3 separate regions of the Homo sapiens genome follow, and all the other regions are linked to region 3. Evidence: promoter capture Hi-C in 16 types of primary human blood cells and fetal thymus (Javierre and others, 2016). All regions are on one chromosome and are shown on one strand. The core of a region is centred on a gene start or on the middle of the fragment in contact, and the rest is flanking DNA. Distances in the headings are between cores, read along the strand shown.

What was found. Contacts are between HindIII fragments. The CHiCAGO score rates a contact against its expected background, and 5 or more counts as called.
Region 1: a fragment that was not itself captured here is called in contact with the fragment with the promoter of GBP7 in region 3 in 3 of 17 cell types (activated CD4 T cells, total CD8 T cells and non-activated CD4 T cells); the score reaches 10.5 in activated CD4 T cells.
Region 2: a fragment that was not itself captured here is called in contact with the fragment with the promoter of GBP7 in region 3 in 6 of 17 cell types (activated CD4 T cells, M1 macrophages, total CD8 T cells and 3 more); the score reaches 8.3 in activated CD4 T cells.

The regions. Positions count from the first base shown.
Region 1 is chr1:89,445,720-89,449,506 of GRCh38, reverse strand. No RefSeq gene overlaps it. Among named protein-coding and RNA genes, the nearest start is that of LRRC8B, 77 kb to the left of the region's middle. The HindIII fragment of the contact is 2,890 bases long and covers 1-2,717 here.
Region 2 is chr1:89,463,988-89,468,374 of GRCh38, reverse strand. No RefSeq gene overlaps it. Among named protein-coding and RNA genes, the nearest start is that of LRRC8B, 59 kb to the left of the region's middle. The HindIII fragment of the contact is 960 bases long and covers 896-1,855 here.
Region 3 is chr1:89,174,558-89,178,321 of GRCh38, reverse strand. GBP7 (guanylate binding protein 7) reads left to right here and starts at 2,319. Exons shown (of 11, transcript NM_207398.3): 1 at 2,319-2,401. The region is part of intron 3 of LOC105378842 (a long non-coding RNA gene); the gene reads right to left. The HindIII fragment of the contact is 1,918 bases long and covers 1,948-3,764 here.

The sequences.
Region 1 (3,787 bases), core at 23-2,522, 270 kb before region 3:
GTAGGCATAGAACAGGTATGTATATTTATGGGGAACACGAGATACTTTGATACAAGCATGCAATGTGTAATAGTCACCTCTTGAAAAACTGGGTATCCATCTTCTCAAGCATTTATCATTTTTTTGTTTCAAACAATCCAATTACATTATTTTAGTTATTTTAAAATGTACAATTAATTATTGACTATAGTGCCTGTGCCTGTGGTGTATTACTCAAGAAATCTTTGCTCAGCCCAATGTCCTTCATAGTTTCCCCAGTGTTTTCTCTTAGTAGTTTTATAGTTTGAGGTTTTGAATTTAAATCTTAATCCATTTTGATCTGATTTTTATATAGAACAAGAGTAGGGGTCTAATTTCATTCTTCTGCATATGGATATCCAGTTTTTCCAAGACCATTTATTAAAGGGACTGTCCTTTCCCCAATGTATATTCTTGACACCTTTGCTGAAAATGGGTTCACTGGAGATGTATACACTTATTGCTAGGTTCTCTATTCTCTTCCATTGGTCTCTGTGTATGTTTTTATGCCAGTACCATGCTGTTTTGGTTATATAGCTCTGTAGTATAATTTGCAGTCAGGTAATGTGGTTCCTCCAGTTTTGTTCTTTTCACTCAGGATAGCTTGGTTTCTTTTGGATCTTTTGTTGTTTCATATAAATTTTAGGATTGTTTTTTCTATTTCTGTGAAGAATGTCCTTGATATTTTGATAGAGAGTCTATTGAATCTGTAAGTTTCTTTAGGGAGTATGGACAGTTGATTCTTCAAATCTGTGAACATGCAATATCTTTCTATTTTTTGAGTCCTCTTCAGTTTCTTGCATCAACGCTTTATGGTTTGTGTTGTAGAGATCTTTTACTTCTTTGATTAAGTTTATCCCTAGGTATATTATTTTATTTGTAGCTATTGTAAATGAAATTACTTTCTTAATTTCAGGTTTTTTGCTATTGGCACATACAAATGCTACAGATTTTTGTATGTTAATTTTGTGTTCTGCAAACTTATTAAATTTGTTTATTAGTTCTAAGAAAGTTTTTGTGGAGTCTTTAGGTTTTTCCAAATATAAGAGCATATCAATTGCAAACAAAAATAACTTGACTTCTTCCTTTTCAATTCAAATGCTCTTTTTTTCTTTGCTTATCTGAATGCTCTAGCTAGGACTTCCAGTACTATGTTGAATAACAGTGGTAAAAGTGGATATGCTTTTCCAGTTCCAGGTATTGGAGGATAGGCTTTCAGTTTTTCCTGTTCAGTATGATACTAACTGTAAGTCTGTCATATGTGGATTTTATTGTGTTATGTTCCATCTATACTCAGTTTTTTAAGATTTTTTTTATTGTGAAGGGAAGTTGAATTTCATCAAATGCTTTTTCAGCATCAATTGAAATGATTATTTGCTTTTTTCTTCATGTAATATATATGATGTTTCACATTGATTGATTTGCATATGTTGAAACATCCTTGCATCTCTGGGATAAATCCCACTTAGTCATGATAAATTATTTTTTTTGATATATTGTTGAATTTGGTTTACTAGTGTTTTGTTGAAGATTTTAGCATCAATTCATCAGGGTATTTAGAAAGTGACAGAGCAAGATGGCTGAATAAAACTCTCCACTGATTGTCCTCACTGCAGAAACAACCACATTTTAACAACTACACACAAAACCATCATCATAAGAACCAAATATCAGGTAAGCAATCACAATATCTGGTTTTAGCTTCATACCACTAAAAGAGGCACTGAAGAGGGTAGGAAAGACAGTCTTCAATCATCAGTCATCAATGCCTTACCTCCCCGATTCTGGAGAGAGAATCTGTGTATTTGGAAGAGGGCAAGCACAATGACTAAGGGACTTGGCATTGAACTCAGTGCTGCCTTGTCATAGTGGAAAGCAAAATCATGTTGAACTCAGCTGGTGGCTGCCCCATGGAGGGAGTATTTGGATAAACCCTATCCAGAGGGAAATTGCCCATCCCAGCAGTTGGAACTTTAGTTTCTTGGCAAGCCTCACCACTGTGGGCTAAAGGGCTCTGGGGTCCTAGGAAAACTTGAAAGGCAGTCTAGGACACAAGGGCTACAATTCCTAGGCAAGTCTTAGTGCTAGGCTGGGCTTAGAGCAGGTGGACTAGAGTGGCATGTGATCCAAGGAGATACCAGCCAGGCGGCTAAGGGAGTGCTTGTACCTCCCCTCCTCCATCCCCAGGAAGCTCAGCTCACAGCAATGAAAGTGACTCCTTCCTTCTCCTTGAGGAGAGGAGAGTGGAAAGTAAAGATGGCTTCATTTTGCATCTTCAATACCAGGTCAGCACAATAGGATAGGACACAAGCAGAGTCTTGACCCCTATATTTCAGGCCCTAGCTCCCATACTACGTTTCTAGATATACCCTGGACTAGAAGGGAAACTGCTTCCCTGAAGAGTATGACCCAGTCCTGGCAGGATTCATCACCTGCTGACTAAAGAGCCCTTGGGACCTCAATAACCAAGGGTGATACTCAGGTAGTATGTTATGGGCCTTGGATAAGACTGGAGATGTCCTGGTTTTAGGTGAGACATAGCATATTCCCAGCTGTGGTGGCTATGGTGAAAGACTCCTGCTTGAGAAAAGCAGGGGGAAAAGCAAAGAGGACTTTGTCTTGTACCTGAAGTACAGCTTGACCCCAGTGAGGCAGAGCACCTAGTGGGCTGTTGGGATCCCTGAGTCCAGGCCTAAGCTTTTGGACAGTATTTCTGGACCTGCCCTAGACCAGATGGGAGCCCATTGCACTGAAGGGTGATTCTCAGGCCTGGCATTCACTACAAGCTGACTGAATAGCCCTTGGACTTTAAGTGAATATTGGCAGTGGCCTGGAAGAACTCCCCATGGGCTGGTAGTGGTGGTGGCTATTGAGAGAGGCTCCTTTGCCTATGGAAAGGGAGGGAATAGTGGGAGGGATTTTGTCTTATGGGTTGAAGGCTAGCTTAGCCTCAGTAGAATAGAACACCAGGTGAATTTCTAAGATTTCTGATCCTAATCCCTGGCTCCCAGACAGCATCTCTGGACCCACCCAGGACCTGAGGGAACTTGTTGCCCTGAAAGGAAGAACAGAAATCAGACTGGCTTCACCACCTATTGACTGTAGAGCCCTAGGCCCTTAAGTGAACATAGATAGTCGCCAGGTAGTGGTTACAGTGGACCTTGGTCAAGACTCAGTGCTATTCTGGCTTCAGATCTGACTCAGTGCAATCCCTGTGGTGGTAGCTACGGTGGTAGTTGTGTCACCTCACCCCTAGCTCCAGGTGGCTCAGCACAGAGAAAGACATACTCCATTTGTTTGGGTGAAAGTAAGGGGAAAGAACAAGATTATATTCCTGGCAATCCAGATAGTTCTTCTGGATCTAATCCATGACCATCAAGATGGTACCTTGGAGTATTAAAAAATCACAGCATTATTGGGGCTGAGGCCCAAATTCCTTTGAGTACCGGAAAAGCCTTCCAAAGAAATATGGGCACAAATAAGCCCAGACTGTGAAGACTAAAATAAGTACCTAACTCTTCAAAGCCCAGACACTGACAAACATCCACAAGCATCAAGACCATCTAGGAAAACATGCCTCACCAAATGAACTATATAAGGCGCCAGGGACGAATCCTGGAGAAAGAGTTATATGACTGTGGAGACAGAGAATAAAAAATAACTGTTTTGAGAAAACTCAAATAAATTCAAGTTAACACAGAGAAGGAGTTCAGAATTCTATCAGATAAATTTAACAAAGAGGTTGAAATAATTAAAGGGGATCTAGCAG
Region 2 (4,387 bases), core at 126-2,625, 290 kb before region 3:
TTATACTCATACAATCAGTAAGGAAGCATGCTCAGAGTTTAACCATTCAGCTAGTGCATGGTGGAAGTAGGACTTAAACTTTTGTCTTCCAACTTCAGGATGTGTGCATGGCAAGGGCTTCATCAGGAAAAAGCAACTTTGGGGATGTATATGAATTTAAATCATTCCTATTACCTTGAATAAGTTGAAATGATCCTGCATATTTCAAAATGTCTAATTAAAACACTTTAGAAACATCTTTTTTTTTTTTTTGAGGTGGAGTCTCGCTCTGTCACCCAAGCTGGAGTGCAGTGGCGCTATCTCGGCTCACTGCAAGCTCCGCCTCCTGGGTTCACGCCATTCTCCTGCCTCAGCCTCCCAAGTAGCTGGGACTACAGGCGCCCGCCACCACGCCCAGCTAATTTTTTTTGTATTTTTAGTAGAGACGGGGTTTCACCGTGTTAGCCAGGATGGTCTTGATCTCCTGACCTCATGATCCGCCCGCCTCGGCCTCCCAAAGTGCTGGGATTACAGGCGTGAGCCACCGCTCCCGGCCAGAAACATTTTTTAAATGTACCACCTGTGATTCTTCAGCAACATTTATGATTATTTTAAATACACAGGTTATTAATTCATAATCAAATTGAACTACAATGCTAGTATAAAAAATTGTCAACAAATAAATCTATCATTAAAGGAAATTTTTTTAAAGTTGTTCCTTTGGGGCTAGTTAATGTATAACATCTTGAAAGTAAAATTATTTTAATTCTAGCAAGCTAACAATACTATATCAGGTTAAGAAACTATTTTGACTACAATATTGTCTTTACTCATAAACACCTATCTTGGCATATAGAAAATTTCATTAAAAAGACTTTTTTTTTCCTTCAGCAATTGATAACCACAGTACAAAGCTTTCTTCCACTGTTATTTTAAAATATAAACCTGGCTTGTAGCCAACACCAACTAACTTGAGACAGAGCGGGAGGTTATTAATGTTAAGCAAATGGAGATTCAATCCTGATTTTCAGAATTTGTTTCTATAAAGCAGAGAATTACACTCAGTATGAAAGTACCATGCTGTTTTTTTTTTTTTCAACCAAGCAGAGGTATGCCCAGCATTTTAGAAACCACAAAATAAACACAGAGACTTTTGTACAAAATAAAGAAGGATATATCCATTTATCATTGCAAAGAAGGGTTCAAATATTTTTTAACTCTCATCATGACTTCTTGTAACACATGGGTCATTTAAAATATGTGTTTTTATTTCAAGCTCCTTTTCATTACTGATTTCTTAATTTATTGTGGCCAAATATATACTCTATATGACTTTGTCCCTTTGAAATTTGTTGAGAATTTATTTTGAGGCTCTGTTATTACATACATAACAATTTAGAGCCGGAGGAGAGAGGATCAAAAAACTACTTATCACGTACTATGCTTATCACCTGGGTGATGAAATAATCTGCACATAAAACCCCTGTGATAGGCAATTTACCACATAATAAAACTGCACATGTACCCCGAAACGTAAAATAAAAGTTAAAAAAAATTTAGAAATATTTTGTCTTTCTCTTGAATTAAAACATTTATTTCACAATGGCCATTTTTATCTCATTTCCCTTTTGCTTATCTTCTTCCCCTTCCTGCTTCTCCTTTTCTCCCCTCTCCTTCTTCTCCTCCCACATACCATACATACATTGTTCTAAACAAACCAAAAGAAGTTGCATTTTACTTACAACAAAAGTTAATCCAATTGCTCTGAAAGAAAATTTAATGATTTATAAAACCCAGGTCAGTCTCAAACAAAAAAGAACCCATGTTACATTTCCACGTGACTCCACACGATAGGGGCATTCAGGTAGTAGAAGCTTAGTGGTATGGCCGGTTTGCTATGGCACACAGCTCTTTCTTTGTGGTTGATGATGTGTCTACTAACCACATAATATCTTCATTACCAGTATCACAGAGGTATCACCAGGAAAACTACTTGTGTGACCTGTCCTAACACAATAATTTTTATTTTTAATTGTTCTGGATTTATCCTTCTCACAGAAGTTTCGATATTATACTGAACTTCATTCAGGACAAAAGGATGCTTCCCTAGCACAGCAGGGATGTGGTTTTGTGGTTTTAACATGAGTTGATGGACTGGCTATTATTCTAGATGCTGTTATCCATGATCAGGATTTGCTACAATTGTCATTCTGGACAGCTATTGATTAAAGCCTCTTTGCTTACCAAAAATAGAAAACACACGTTTATTGAGCCTTCATCCTGTGCCAGGCCTTATAGAAGTGTACATCACAGAGGTATTTAGTCCCCAATTTGTTTTGATAGTTCTGTCTAAACTTTTAAAGAAGAAGCCAATTTGGATAACACAAATGGTCATTGCTCAAGTAAAGCTGAAACACCCTGTCATTTGTATGTTCATAAACACTTGCAAAATACTTTCTATGAGTTCCCTAACCCTCAGGATGATGCCAGGGGCAGGTATTATAATTAAGAGCTTCTAGTAAAGGGAGTTGAAGTTTAAAGATATTAAGTGATTTTTCCGAGATCCCTTTAGTGGTGGTAGAGTAGGGTGCTGAGGCATACTGGAAAGGGCATGGCATCAGAGAGACCTGAATTCAACTTCCACCGTCTCTGTCATTTCCTGCGTTACCTTAGACAGGTTCCTGAAATATATCTGATCCTGTTTTTCATATTCCTTGGCTTTGACATGGGGTTCTTGATGGGTTTAAATTAACTAATGAGTGTGGAAGTGTCTGCAACCTGAAAAGTGTTGTCAGAGTGTGAGTCACTCTTATTTAATCTTTAGGTAAGTGATTACAGTGTCACAGACCACATTTCAAGTCAGACAGAACTAGTTGTAACTAGCATGTGCTGCATGAATTTGAGTGTGTTACTTGAGCTCTCTGGGTATGTGTCTCCTCAGCTGTAAAATATGTGTCATAATGCAACCTTGTGTATTGTGAATATTGACCAAAGCCACAGAAGTGAAGCTGTGGTGCACAGCTCACAGGAGGCACTTGGTGAATGTCAAGGCTTCTCTTTCTAGAATCAGCCCAGTGTCTGTATTGGGACAGCACCATCTCCTTAGGAGAGCACTGCCTGCATTAGTCTAGCACAGGAGATCTGTAATGGACTATGCGGGCCATTCCATGGATAAGTAATCTGACCTAGAGAGGTGAACTGACTTTTTCAGGTCATAGAGCTAATGGCAGAGTTGAGAGTTGAACTGCATTCTGATTTCAAATTCAGTAATTTTTTTTAACATTATTAACATTTTCAAAATTCAATAATACATTTTAAAAATTGTCCTTGCCCTGTAAAAGTGATTTGTATTAAGAACACATTCGTATATGTAGATAGCATTGCTAGTGCAGGTGAATCAAACCTGAATTGTTCTACATCACAAATAGCCAGTATAGAAGTTTAAGTGCAGAAAGATTTCTTTGTATATCTTGGGGTATTCTCTGTAACAGAACCACAGTGCTCCCTTGGAAACAAGGTGTCCACTTTTAATGTCTACATTTTACTTGATTTTAAATTCTCTATAGCTATTACTTCAGAGACTTATACTTGTTGACAGCTATGTGTAGTGGAAAGAGCCTAGCACTGAGGCGGTCAAGAGATCTGGATTCTAGTTCTGGATTTGGCATTACTTAGCTATTGTTCGCTGTTGGAAATGTAACTACTACTCCTATGACAGCTTGAAATATCTTGAAGTGAATCTGAATGATTTCTAAGTGTATTAGTTTCCTGTTGCCACTGTAACAAATTACCACAAATTTAGTGGTTTAAAGAACACAATATAAACTCTTACAATTCTGGAGGGTGGTCAGAAGTCCAAAATGGGTCTCATGGGGCTAAAATCAAGGCATTGGATTCTTCTGGAGTCTCTAGGGAAAAATCAGTTTCCTCGCCGTTTTCAGCCCTTAGAGGCCCCTGCACTCCTTGGTCATGGCCCCTTCCTGGGATCACTTCCACCTTTTGCTTCCATCATCATCATGTCTCCTACTCCTCTCTGACTTCTCCAATGTCTTTCGTGTAAATACCCTTTTGACTTTATTGTGCTTCCTTGAGTAATGTAGGAGAAGCCCCTCATCTCAAGATCCTTGACTGGATCACACCTGCAAAGTTTCTTTTACCATACAAGGAAACATTCAGAGGTTTTTGAGGTCAGGATGTGGGCACATCTAAGGGGCATCATTCAGCCTACCAAAGAAACCACAGTGGTCAATGATGGATGATTGGGGAATGCGGTCAGAAAGAATGAACTTATTTTTGGTACCTTCACTTATTTCTTGAATATATGAACAGATAGCAGATAATATAGTGTATGAGATTCAGAGTCATGTAGACCTGCATTAAAACCCCAGCTATACCACTTACTAGCTGT
Region 3 (3,764 bases), core at 1,070-3,569:
GAGACTGTCAGTCTGTCACCCAGGCTGAAGTGCAGTGGTGCTATCTCGGCTCACTGCAACCTCTGCCTCCCAGGTTCAAGCGATTCTCCTGCTTCAGCTTCCCTAGTAGCTGGGAGTACAGGCATGTACCACCACACCTGGCTAATTTTTTTGTATTTTTGCAGAGTCGGGGTTTCACTGTGTTGACCAGGCTGGTCTCAAGCTCCTGACCTCAAGTGATCCACCCACCTCAGTCTCCCAAAGTGCTGGGATTACAGGTGTGAGCCACCTCGCCCAGCATTTACACTGCACTATTTTTAGCTGGTTTATATATAACATGTTTCCCTAGGATCAATGCCATCCTGTTTTCCCATTAGAGAATTGACAACACAATTTGCTGGTACATCCTCAAATTTGCTATACCTTCCTTGTATTCTTCATCCTATGCTCACCTTGGAAATGTGGTAGCCATTTGCTTATCTAAAAGAATATTAAAATTTATCTCCCTTGGAAGAAATGGCTATAGACAGGATAGGCACCGGGCTTAAGCTCCCAAAGTGTCAGGAAGCCTGGGTCTCTGTCTTTCTGGATATTTCCATTTCAAAAGGCATGGAGCCCAGACTCTTGAAGACATCTCTGGGTTGTAAAGCTGGCACTGATATTTAGCCCCTAGAAAGCTCTATTTGTATTCAAAAGGTTAAAGAAAGGACTCTGGCCCACTTGTCTCTAAAGAAACACTCTAAAAACAAGCTGGGGTCTGGCATGGTGGCTCACACCTGTAATTCCAACACCTTGGGAGGCTGAGGCGGGTGGATCACCTGAGATTGGGAGTTCGACATCAGCCTGACCAACATAGAGAAACTCCATCTCTACTAAAAATACAAAATTAGCCGGGCTTGGTGGCTCATGCCTGTAATCCTAGCTACTCAGGAGGCTGAGACAGGAGAATCGCTTGAACCCAGGAGGTGGAGGTTGCAGTGAGCGAAGATTGTACCATTGCACTCCAGCCTGGGCAACAAGAGAGAAACTCTGTCTCAAAAAAAAAAAACACAAGTTGGGAAAGTGGGATCTTTTTTTCTTATAAATTTATGTACCCTTAAATTATACATGATTCACAAAGATTCAATTTTGCCTGGGGCTATTTTTTGTTTGCATGATATAAACAATAGATTTTATTACTTAGAAGCAGGTGATTTCCTAGCAATAGTTCTGTTTTGAAATAACCCTGCCTTACTTTCACTTTAAATCTCATCAATATTCACACACACACAGAGAAGTCTTACTCTCTGCTCTCCATTTCTCTCTCTCTCTTCCCCGCTTCCCACCTTCCTCTCTTTTAGAGACAATGTGCAGTAGAGAATCAATGTGGTTTTAACCAAATGGATTTTCAAGTTTGAATCTCGCTCAATTACTTGCTACCTTGGTGTGTAGCTCAATGGCTTTAGTTAGACATATTAATTACCCGTTTTCTGATTATTTTTCCCCCTTGGACAATGGGGATAATAAACAACCTTTATCTTGAGGTATTTTGATATTTAAAATGGTATGTGTAAAGAATATGGCCTAGAATGGAACTGATAAGGAGAAAACATTGTTATTGTACACTCAGCAAACACAGAGGTATTTTAATGAAGTGACTGACAGCAAGACTTCTTGGGCCCAAATCTTATTTAGTAGCTCTGTAATTGTAATAAATTATTAAATCCCTCTTTTAACATTGTGGTAAAAGTATTTGTGATAAGAATACAATGGGATAATCTATGTAAACAAAACGGGTACTATCTTCATTATTATTTATTAAATGTTAAGTGCCAAGACCTGAGTTAGGTGCTAATAATTCAAACATGTATAAGACGTGGACATTCCTTCAGGGCATTTAGAGTCCTCATTATTAAACACAAATAATGAGTTCCATTTTAAGAGTCTAATATTCAAGCCAATTGAACCTAAATAATATTATATTAAGCTTTCTTATTCCTGTACTTCTCAATGTGGCCCACAAACATGAGATGAATGTCATTATTTTAAACGATTCATTGAAGTTTTTTTAATAATCGCAAGCTGTCTCTAAGATCTCTTCCAATAATAAAATTGGAAGATTCTGTTTGAGAAATTATGTCAAATCCTCTCACTAGCACAGCTGTCAGCAATTTCTTTTATTGTTGCTAAATCATGGACTGTCATATTACTCTATTTATTTGCAGAGGTTGCATTGTTTTTTACATGTATAAATACAGGTCTCTAGAAAGTCTGGAAAGCCCCATGACATTGGAGAGGTAAGGTAAAAGTCCAAAGTTCCAGCAAGAAAAAAAGTGGGAGAAATCAGTGCAGCCAAATTCAGAACTAAAGAGAAGAGAATAAAGACTCATAACTTTCTCATTGAAGCTGCCTTCTTACCAAGTCCAGAGGATCTCTACTCTGGGTAAGACTATGACTTATAAGGATTTCATGATTTATAAGGATCCATTAGTTTTCTCTAAGTTGACCATCCCCAAGATAGGCTGCAGCTGAGCCAGCTACAGGATACAAGTCCAGATGAAATCCTGGCCTCTTAGGTGGCTGTGTGTACCTTAGTGTGCTCTAATTCCTGCTGTGTCAGATTAGGCTTCAGCAGAGGTGGAACAGATATTCAGAGAAGCCAGTGTTCTAAGATTGTTATTTCTTTTCTGACACCATCTTAAATTACTGTTATCTTTAAATATCTGCCTAATAGGCTCTGTCACTTTCTTTATTGGGCCCAACATTTATAGCTCTAGGTAAATGAAGGTAGGCAACTTGGGATCTGCAAAAAGAGGCAACACATTATTATAATCCAGGACCTTATAACATCTTTGTGCCACCACCTTTCTGAGCCGGTGACTGATTGATTCCTATGTTATGGTAGCATAGTATATGCTACAGAATTGGACAGACGCATACTCTGTTTTCACTCATCTTCCATAGATACCCAATCTTTTTAGTTTCTGGTTTGCCCTTCTTGCTTGCCAGCAGATCCTGTAGGCCATTGCTATAAGAGGAAATGGGTCATGATCACAGAAAAATAAACGGCTTTTTTTCCATCTTCTGCTGAAGTGATGGGAAGCCAGATAATTTAATATAAACCTCCAGAGGAACAAGTCAGAAGTAACCAACTCTATAGTGGAAACAAACCACTCTTTATTATAGGATAAAAAAGAAAACTGCAGTATCTATCATCTATATTTGCTTGTATCTTAAAGAGATTATATATTTTGTATCATGATCACATAAGTTACAAGGATTGAGACATTCAACTTAAAAACACAAAATTAAAGCATCACTACAAGAAGGCTTTTCACTCCTTTTAACTTTACAAAATTATCAAAATATTTAATTTATCAAGCCCTGGATAAAGATAGCATGATTACAATTGTGCATATGCTACTCTCTATACAGCAGAGATCAGACAAAAAACAAGCCATGGTTTTTCAAAGAATGTTTCATGCTGTGACTTCATTACATGAAATAATTAAAAACAATATGCAGACTGATATACATGGAGGTAATAAAGAATCAATCTTCAAATGCAGAGAATTCAAAATCTGTTAACATAATCAAGTCAAAAATCAACAGAGTAAGTGTCAGGTGCGAGCTATCAGGCTTGCATGAATAACGTGTGAATGCTGATGCACAGTGAGAGGAGGAAGCCATTGGGTAACCTGAGTCCCACAGTCTGACCAGACCCTGCCCACAGAGGGGCTTGCAAGAAATCAGGACCAAGAATGGGTTAGAATGGTATCTATGTTTCAAAGTATAGAGATATGTAT